2 separate regions of the Homo sapiens genome follow, and region 2 is linked to region 1. Evidence: promoter capture Hi-C in human tissues and cell types (Jung and others, 2019). All regions are on one chromosome and are shown on one strand. The core of a region is centred on a gene start or on the middle of the fragment in contact, and the rest is flanking DNA. Distances in the headings are between cores, read along the strand shown. Region 1 holds the start of IGSF21 (immunoglobin superfamily member 21). Region 2 overlaps PAX7 (paired box 7).

Region 1 (5,036 bases), core at 2,297-4,796:
TGTGTGTCTGTGTACACTTGTGTGTGTGTGTGTACACTTGTATGTGTGTGCCTGTGTGTATGTGTGGTGTACTGTGTCTAGGTAAGGTGTTTGGGAACTCTGGTTCTTGAGCTCTTCCTAGGTTGGAATCTGGTCCTATTCATAGCTGTATTGTACTGAGAAAGTTGCTTAACTTCTCTGTGCCTCAGCTTTCCCAACTGTAAGACAGGACTAATGATGGGACCCACCTCATACATTATTGTGTGGTGTCAATGAATTTATATACATTAAATACTTTCACAGCACCCGGCACAAAGAGGCACTTTCATAAGTGCTTCAGACTCTTATTATTGAACCTCACTGGGTGTCCTGCTGCAAACCAGCAGAGCCCATTCCCTTGGGAGCCAGGTTGGGGTAGGCAGTCATGTGCTGCGTCCCTCCCCTTTCCTGGCAGGGAGGGTGGGGACTAGAGGTCACAGAGGGGCCCTTTGACCTCTGGGGCTATTCCCTGGGGTCCGCGGAGTAGAAGTTTGCTTTGTGCTGTAGTGCACTCTGTTGGGAGAGCCTAACTCAGCACCATGAACAGAGGGAGGCTGGGGGCAAACAGCCACACCTCCGCCAAGGACTCCAGCTCAGCCAGTGTCCGAGGAAGAGGCCTGTCCTGCCGTGACTCATGGGTCTGAGTGCCAGGACTGCAAAGTGGAGGCCCTGCCGATCCATTAGGAGACAGGAGCCAAGGGATGTTAAGCAAATTAAAAGCCCCAGGGCTGTCCCGCGTGACCTTTTCCTTTGGCTAAGGCACCCCACCCTGTGCCCTCTGCTAACTGTGCTTCTCAGTGCTCCAGAGATGTCTTTCTCTGGGACAAAGGAAAGGCTTTAAAGCTATATCTTATGAAACAGGAGCTGGAGGAGTGGGCTTCCCTGGAGGGGCCTGTGAAGGCAGCCGTATTAACCACTATGGTTACCATATGGCCATAGACATGCACATCACAGCCAGGCCCCTTTGGGCAAAACCAAACTGCGCACCTGAGCAGACACCTCCTCTCTGATGGGCCCAGTCAGAATATGTGATCCTGGCGCTCCAAGGAGGTTCACTGCCACAGGACGCCTACCAAGTGCCAGACTTGTGCAAGGAGCTGAGGAACAGAGTGGATAAGACTGAATGACCTACCCTCATTCATTCATTCATTCATTCATTCATTCACGCATTCATCCAACTGGTATTTATTGAGGATCCACTATGTGTCAGGCACTGGCTAGGCATAATAATAATTATAATACAGGGTGATGTTAAAGAGAATTGAGGTGATTCAGAAGTCTTGGGGCTGAAGGAGATCTCCAACACACCAGCCCCAATCCTTGGTCCTAGGAAGCAACCCTCCCTTGGCTGTTAGGCCTGCTTTCCTCCTCACTAGCATATCCTCAGATGCCATTCTCTAGCTCCTTCTGCTGGCTCTCTTTTCTAGCTGGTGTGAACCATGGCTGGGAAGAAACATCACTAAGGGGCCCTGGAATCCCACCTGCTCCCTGGCCCTCATCTCCAAGGGCTGGGCTGCAGGGAGCGCAGCCAGGAAGCCCCACCAATTCAGGGTTCACCTGAGGAACTGATGCTGTCCACCTGCCTAGCTGCACGCCGATTTGCAGCTGGGGCCAGAGAGTAGGAATGCCCACACAGCGATGCTTGGCATTTCCCTGCACAACTCAGACCAGCACAAGGAACCGCATGAACCTGATGCTGTTCCCCAGCCAGGGAGCCCCTTCCACAGAGGATTTAGAACCTGGGATGGACTTTTGGGTTTGTTGACTTTTTCTTGGGTCAGAGTGGGGAGGGAGGGCCAGGGAGGAGGCAGTAAGGGACTGTGCCCTGCAGCCTGAGAAGAAGGTGAGGGGGAGAGGTGACCTCAAGCTGACCCTCAGCAGCCTGGAGAAGGGGAGACCTGGGTGGATGCGAGTGAGAGGGAGCAAAGAACAGCAGCCAAAGGGAGAAGAAAGGACCTAAGACTCCAGTGTTCATCAAGTGTTCAAGCCATATGCAGTCCAATCAACCTGGAACCAATTAGTCTGATTCACAAAAAAAAAAAAAAAAAAAAAAAAAAAAAATCCCACTTAGGGACAAACTGTAATCAAACACCTATTTATAAGGGTTTATTATGATCATTATTATTATTTTACTGAGAGGATCATTCTAAAGCCTGTCAGGTGAACGTATGCTTTCAGATCTTCATAAATGCAAATCGCTCCTTCTGGGGTGGGTGAGCAAGCTGAGCCGCAGAGCTGCCTTGGGAGGCGATGGGGTGAGGTTCCAGAGGGCAGGAGGAGGGAGCAGTTCACTTTCATGGACATCTCTGCACAAAGCTCACCCAGAGGCAGCCCAGCAACCACCCATTGCCCACCCCACTCCCTACACTCCTCTCAGAGGGCTGCTGGAGATGGAACTGGCTATAGACCCATTGCCCATGTAGGTAAACGATGCAACAGCCTGACTCAGCAACCTGCCAGAGCTAGGGAAGCTGGAGATTCTCCATAGAAGGCCTGGGTAAAGGGACCCACCTGAGTTCTGAGCAGGTTTTGCCCCTGGTCGTGCTGGTTTTTCTGGGCTTTGCCAATCTTCTGGGTCCCTACCAATGGTGAAATTCTATCTCCTGAACTTCCTCATCTAACCACATCCCCAGTCCACTCCAAGGGCTAGAGTACCCCTCCCCTTCATCCTCGCAGGAGGCCTCAAAGTCCACCGCCAGGGCTGAGGCTCAATGGTGTGTGTGTGTGTGTGTGTGTGTGTGTGTGTGTGCTCGCGTGTGTGTTGGTGGGAGAGTAATGGTAACATACAAGTCCCAAACCTGTTCTTCTCGGACCTGGGAAGAAAAGCTGTCAGGTCTGGCAAAAAGGTGGAAACTTGGTCTCTGCCAGGAGGAAACAATCAGTTCCTCACCCTTCCTGGCTGGATCCTAGCACATGGGAAAAAGACAGAACACACCCCATTTCCGTGGGTCCCTGGGGGAAGGAGCAGCCGTAATTGGGGAAGTTTCAGAACATGGAAACCCCTTAATCTTGCCCAATGAGGGCATTCATCGTTGGCAAGGTCAGAACTCCAGAGCCACACCCTGCCTGCCCTGCTCCCAGGATGGCATCTTTCCCTCTCGGGAGGGAGGCTGCCTCCTTTCATCAGGCTGAGTAGCGGGGAGGGCGATGGTAATCCCGGGGATAGGAGGGGCTAGGTAAAGGCGGATCCGATGGAGCATAGCTTCCAGGGCGGGGTGTTGGGTCACCTGGGTAAGGGTTAAGAAGCTGGAGGCAGCAAGCCAGTTTTGAGTGAGGGGGGACCTGAGTGAGGGGAGAGGGGAGGTTAGGAGGGGGTGAGCTCTCCTTCTCCCTGCAATAAATCGGCTTAGCGGACGAGAGCCGAACAGCCCAGAAAGGATTAAAGAAAAGTCTGTATAATACGCGGAGAGCGCGGCGAGGGGAGGGCAAGGAGGGCGGGGGGGCGGGGAGAGGGGGAGGGACGGAGGGAGGGCGAGAGGAGGGGGGTGCTCGCGCCGCCGGGAGAGGCGAGCGCGAGGCAGAGAGCGCGATTCGGCTCCAAACTCCGGCGCTGCAGCCGATCGGACTCTGGGCCGCGGTGGGCACCGCGCGCAGCTAGGGAGCCGAGAACCGCGGCGAGCCCCGAGGACGCCCAGAGCGCGAGGGTCGCTGCGCCTCGCAGAGCCGGAGCCGAGTCGAGCCGGGCGCCCGGGCTGCCTGGCCGCGGCGGCATGGGGGCGCCCCCGCGGCTCTCCGCGCTGCCCGCCACCGCCTCGGCCAGTGGCCGGAGGCAGGAGCGCGTCTGAGCCCATGGCGAGGGGACCCGCCGCCACCGCCTCCACCCCCGCCGCCCCGCCACCGCCGCCAGCTCCCGGGCACCATGCGAACCGCCCCGAGCCTCCGCCGCTGCGTCTGCCTGCTGCTCGCCGCGATCCTGGACCTGGCGCGCGGTGAGTGCGCGGGCGCCTGGCGGGAGCCGAGCGGTGAACGTGCGCGGGGACGGGGTGCCGGGGGAGGGCGCTGGCCGGGGTCGCTCCGAGAGGCTCGGGCTACGAGCACCGGTCCTGCCCGGGGTCTGTGGAGCTGGTTGGCTCGATGAGGGAGGGAGGACGCCTCTTGGAGAGCGCTCATGGATTTGTGCCAGGGTGTGTGTGTGTGTGTAAATTGTGTGTCTTTGTTGTGTGTCTGGGTGAGGGTGTCCGGGAAGGAGCTGTGTGGGCAGAAGGTGCGGGAGTGTATTTAGAGATGCAAGTGTGTGTGTGCGTGTGTGTGTGATGGTGTGGGGTCTGCGTGTGAGTGAGCGAGGGTCTGGATGGGTGTTAGAGTGTCTGTGTCAGTTACATGGAGAAGGTGTGTGTGTGAGAGTGTGAGCGAATGTTGGGGGGAGGGTGTGAACATGTGCCACCTTCCCTGTGAGGGTGTGAAGTGTGTGAGCTTGTGTCACTGTGGGTGTGAGGTGTTAGGGGGTGGGTATGTGAGGTTTGGCGTTTCACGTGTGTCCCGAGTGTGCAGGTCTCTAGGGGTGTACGACAGCGGATTACTATTTCTGTGTGCACAGGAGATGGGACTGTGACACTGGACAAGAGTCTGCTTATGTGGGATGGGTGGGGGTGCAGGTGCCTGGGAGTCGTGGGCTTCATGGGGCTGGGAGTGTGTGTATGCGTGCCATGGAGCGTGTGGTTATCGTGTGCAGGGAGGTATGGACGCTTCCGGGGCTGGGGAGTTGTGAGCAGCTCAGTGTGTGTGTGTGTGTGTGTGTGTGTGTGTCCCGCCGTGTGGACTTGCTCCCGGGTTAGGCTAAGACAGCTAGAAGGAGGTTGAAGCCGAGCGGGTTCTCCGGAGCCAGTGAGAGGTGGCTCCGCAGCCCCAGGGTCCGCGGCCGGCCTCCCACCCAGTGCCGCCGCGTAGTGGGTCTTAAATGGAGCTGAACCCTTTCGCGCAGTGAGCAGAGAGCCAACGTGAGGCTAAAAGCCAGGAGGGAGGGAGGCGGGACCAGCGAAGAGCCGCAGGCACCGAGACTACAGGCTCCGCGTCCGGGA
Region 2 (4,795 bases), core at 367-2,866, 550 kb after region 1:
ACCCAACTCTGCCCAGGACACAGCAGGCCTCTGACACACGCCACATTCTTCTCTTCCTTTCTGCTCTTCTCTTCCCCTAGACACCTTATTTTTTCTGGCTTAAGGACAAAATTAGGAGGGAGGAAAACGGAAAATCCAGATGCCAAGTCCTTCCAGGGAAACCAAAGTGGGGGATGATTGAGGCCTGGGAGGTGGAGGGAGGGTTGTTGTGGAGTCATCATAATTTAAGAAATCTGCCTCCCTTCCACGCCCCAAGATGAGCATTACTATTTCATGGATGATTCAAGTCTAACTTCCCCCTAGGAAGGGCTGTGACCCCTGACCCCTGCAACCTGTATTTACCACGTTCAAAAGCCCCTACTAGCCCCAGAGAGCTGACCTGAGCTGGGACCAAGGCACCAGGACTGGCAGGGCTATAAACAAGCCTGCCTCCTTGGGCTCAGGAATCCTGAGTGAAAAAACAGAAGGGGGCTCAGAGGTGGGGCCCAGTCCTGGCCTGTGAGCCAGCGGCTAAAGGGAGGGGAGAGAGGACTCACGGGGGTGGGGGACCTGGAGGATGAGTTAGGGGAGAAATGGGCACATAAGGAGCTATTTCCTCCCCTTGACCCTCGGTTTTCTTGGCTGTAAAATGGAGCAAAAGCTACTTTGCTCGTTAGGGTTTTGTAAGGCTGAAGTGAAATAGTGAGTGTAAGGGCTTCAGAGTGCTAGAGGGGAAAGTAAAAAGCACACACGCATGCTAGAGCAGGGGGCATAGAATAGGGAGGGGGCCAAAGCATGGAGGATTAGACAGTTGACACGTGGTTGTTAGATGATCAGTAAATCTCTGTTGAGAAATAAATACCCAGAGCTTGGCTGAAACAGAACAACGTGGGTCCATCCCTGCCCTCAGAGGCCCCCTTGCTTGGTGGGGTAGACAGGCAAACAGATATCCCTCCCTTCAGTGTAAGGGTTGCCATGAGGAGTAGGGGGCATAGGGGCTGTGGGAGAGTCCCGCTTTGGGGTCCATGAGGTGGAAATGAATTCGTCTTTATTTTTTCAAACTCACATTTCCTGTGCCTCTTTGCAGAAACTTTCTGATCTCTCCTCCCACCCCAAACTTGCCTTTGGTGTGTCCACGTCTCTTGGATTAGACTTTAATCCTCCTCCAGCTCCTTGATGGGCATGCAGAGGCTGAGAGGATCGAACTGGCCTTTCCCAGCACTTGCTCTGGGACTATCTGGAAGCCTGCACGCTAACTCAGCCCACTGCCCCGCCCTGTAACTGCAGACAAGAAATGACCTCCATGAGCCTCAGTGTTCTCATCTGTAAAATAGGGCTAACAACACCCACCTCACAGTGTCGGACAAAGCCACGTGTGGTGCCTGGCACACAGTAGGTGCTCAGAGTATGGGCCTGGAGCCCATGCTGGCTTTCTGGCTGCAGCACACAAGAGCCTGGGCTCCCTCGGCCAACTGGGCCTGGCCTTTGAAGCTTAGTGTGGCTCCTTATTATGGCAATTAATTACCCAGGGACAATGGAGCACAGCCCTGCCCTCTGCCCGCGCCTTCCAGTGACAGGGGGTGGGCGGAGGGCGCCGGGAGGGGGAAGTTAAGCGGCTGCCTGTTTGTTTATGGGCACAGGAAGCTTTATTGGTTTTACACTCCAGCCTGTTCTGAAATCAAAGACGATTTCCAGGGAGCAGGTGGGAGTCAGCCACTTGGAGCTCAGAGAGTGGCTTTGTTTATTTTGGGGGCCCTGACTGAGCACAACCTGGTCTCTGCCTGCACCAGTGTCCTAGAGACCTGCTCTGGGGTTGGGCAACAGGAGTTGGTGCTTCGCTGGGGGTAGGGTGGGTGCTGGGGGGTTGAGGGGGGCGAGGAGGCAGCTCCTCCTGCAGGCCTGGGAGGAGAGGGAGCTTTGGTTTCCCAAAGCCTGGGGTGAGTGCTGCTGAAGTTATGTGACCCGGCCTTGGCCAAGCTACTCCTGCTCTCTGAGCTTTGGTGATCTTGCCTTCAAAACGGGCCTAAAGATGACCCCTGCCCCGGCAGTCTTGGAGAATGCGCGGGGCAATGCTCATTGGTGTGGTTCCATGAGGCGACCTTTCTGCAGTCCTGGAATTTGCAGTGCTCCTTTGTTCCTTCTTTAGTTCATTCATTCATTCATTCATTCATTCACTCATTCTCTCATCCTGTAAGAGAGCCTGTAGATTCACACTTCTACTTGGAATTAGAGAAAAGAAAGCTGGTTTCTCAAATTCAAAAACATTGTATTAGTTCTAGTTTTTTGTTTGTTTGTTTGTTTTGTTTTGTTTTTGTTTTGAGACAGAGTCTCACTCTGTCACCCAGGCTGAAGTGCAGTGGCACAATCTAAGCTCGCTGCAGCCTCCGCCTCCTGAGTTCAACCAGTTCTCCTGCCTCAGCCTCCCGAGTAGCTGGGGTTACAGGGACACGCCATCATGCTCAGTTAAATTTTTTTGTACTTTTAGTAGAGATGGGGTTTCACCATGTTGGCCAGGATGGTCTAAATGTCTGACCTCAGGTGATCCTCCTGCCTTGGACTCCCAAAGTCCTGGGATTACAGGCATGAGCCACCACACCCAGCCTGTAAGTTCTTTATATTGAAGGAATCACATATTATTGTGAAGAAAAAAAAAAAACCTCAAACACTAAAAGAATATAGAAAGTAAAAAAGCTTGTCAGCCTCTGCTTCCTACTCTCCAGAGTTAAATACAATGAATAACTTGGGAGTCTGATCTTCTAGATGTTTCTCCACAGAGAAACGGCACATCTATACATATGTTTATTTTGACAAAGTGGGATTGTGCAACAGACACTGCTCTGGACTTAATCAGTTAATAATGTGTCCAGGACATCATTTTCCGGAGGCTGGTTCCTTCTCGACACCTCGCCAGTGATGGGTTTTACCCATTGTTTTATCACCTTCAACCTGATGGTAGCTGAGCCCTGGGCTCATCACTTCCACCTGTTAACTGAGGAGCCATTGCTGTCCCCATTGTACAGATGATAAGACTGAGGGCCAGAGAAGCTGGATGATTTCTTCAGGTCTCCTGCTAGAAAGCAGATGAACTGGAATTTGTGGGGTTTGTTTTGTTTTGTTCTGTTTTGTTTTTGAGACAGAGTCTTGCTCTGTTACCCAGGCTGGAGTGCAGTGGCATGATCTCAGCTCATTGCAACCTCTGCCTCCCATGTTCAAACGATTCTTGTGCCTCAGCCTCTCGAGTAGCTGGGATTACAGCCATGTGCCACCATGCCCAGCTAATTTTTATATTTTCAATAGAGGTGGGGTTTCGCCATGTTGGCCAGCTGGTCTGAAACTCCTGGCTTCAAGTGATCCACCCGTCTCGGCCTCCCAAAGTGCTGGGCTTACAGGCGTGAGCCACCACAGCCAGCCTGAGCTGGAATTTGAATTTGGGTTTTCTGACTCTCAATCCTCTAGGATAATTTGGGGTACGTGGAGGAACTGGCCGTATCCTAAGTTCAGAAGACAGACTCCAGACAAGAAGTATAACAGCCTGTGGTGAAAGATACGTGGTATTGACATCTTCCCACAGGTCAGGAACAGTTATCACTTTAACATAGCCTTGAAGTTCAGGCCAGCTGCTACCAGCCCATGCCAGATGGCTTCTTAGTGCCACAGTCTTCCCTTTTCCCTCCCAGTGAGAAAGCACAGAGGTGAAATGGGGGCTTAGAAAGCCCCCACCCCACCCACTGGCCTTAATAAAGTGGGATTCCAGGGCTGCAATTCACTTTTCCAATCCAGGATCTTGAAACTCACAGCTCTCCCAGATCGTTGTACCAAGATTGGGACCTGGAGCTGAAAGAGCTTCTCCAGCAGACACTCCTCAGATGTCAGCTCTGGAAGCATCCAGTCTGACCCTCTCACTTTCACAGATGGATGGGCAGAGGCCCCAGGAAGGTTAAGTGACTTGCCCAAGGTCACACAGCTAATCAGTGGCAGAGCTGGGACAGATTCCCTTTTGTTGGAAAGATGATCTCGTGCCTCTGAGGCGGTAGTGACCTCTCTCCTGGCCCCTGTCAGCCTATGGCCACATCTGAGTTTTTCCTTCCCAACTGTTGAAAGTCTTCCAAACCTCGGGGAGGCCGGGAGGCGTAACAAATGGGGAGCTGGTGACCTGGAAGAGGGAACACCATGCCTGGGGAAGGGGAGGGAGGAGGGCGAGGCAGCCACACGAAAGTCCAGTTACCAGGCTGTCACAGCACTCTCATTTGGTCAGCACTTTACAGTTTATGAAGCTTGTCCCAAGCTGTGATCCTCACAGCCCTCTATGAACTAGCCTTGTCATCCCTATTTTCCACATGGGGAAATCGAGAGGCTCAGAGGATGACATCCGTTGCTCAGAGTCCCACAGTAAGTGATGGAATGTCAGATCTGGGGTGAGGCAGGGGCAGCTTGGGACCATCTAGTCCTATCCCCCCATTTTACAGATCAGGAAGGTGAGCCCCCGAGAAGGGGAGGCTAGGAGCTCCCTGTTGTAATGCTCATTTCCCTAGACATATGCTGGCCTCCTGGGCATATGATGGTAAACCCCAAATCCTGAAGGGAGACTGGATGATGTGTTCCCTTTCCAGGGAGCGTGCTTCTTGACAGGGCCTAGTGGGAGACATTACCCTTTGGTTCCAGTGATTCTAAACCTGGCAGTGTAGTGTGGTGGCTAATCTTGAGTCAGCTGGACCCAAGCTCCAGTCCTGACTCTGCTGTGTGTCCTTAGGAAGATGACATCTCTCTGTGCCTCAGTCTGCTCACGTGCAATATAGAGCTCCATTACAGGGTGGTT

The links. Contacts are between HindIII fragments. The study calls those that stand out against the background at their distance.
Region 2: a contact is called between a fragment that was not itself captured here and the fragment with the promoter of IGSF21 in region 1, in 2 of the 25 tissues and cell types used here (liver and thymus).

The regions. Positions count from the first base shown.
Region 1 is chr1:18,104,252-18,109,287 of GRCh38, forward strand. It overlaps IGSF21 (immunoglobin superfamily member 21), which reads left to right and starts at 3,547. Exons shown (of 10, transcript NM_032880.5): 1 at 3,547-3,947. The coding sequence starts at 3,878. The HindIII fragment of the contact is 17,740 bases long and covers 1-5,036 here.
Region 2 is chr1:18,660,292-18,665,086 of GRCh38, forward strand. All of the region lies in intron 4 of PAX7 (paired box 7), which reads left to right. Among named protein-coding and RNA genes, the nearest start is that of PAX7, 32 kb to the left of the region's middle. The HindIII fragment of the contact is 3,689 bases long and covers 1-3,461 here.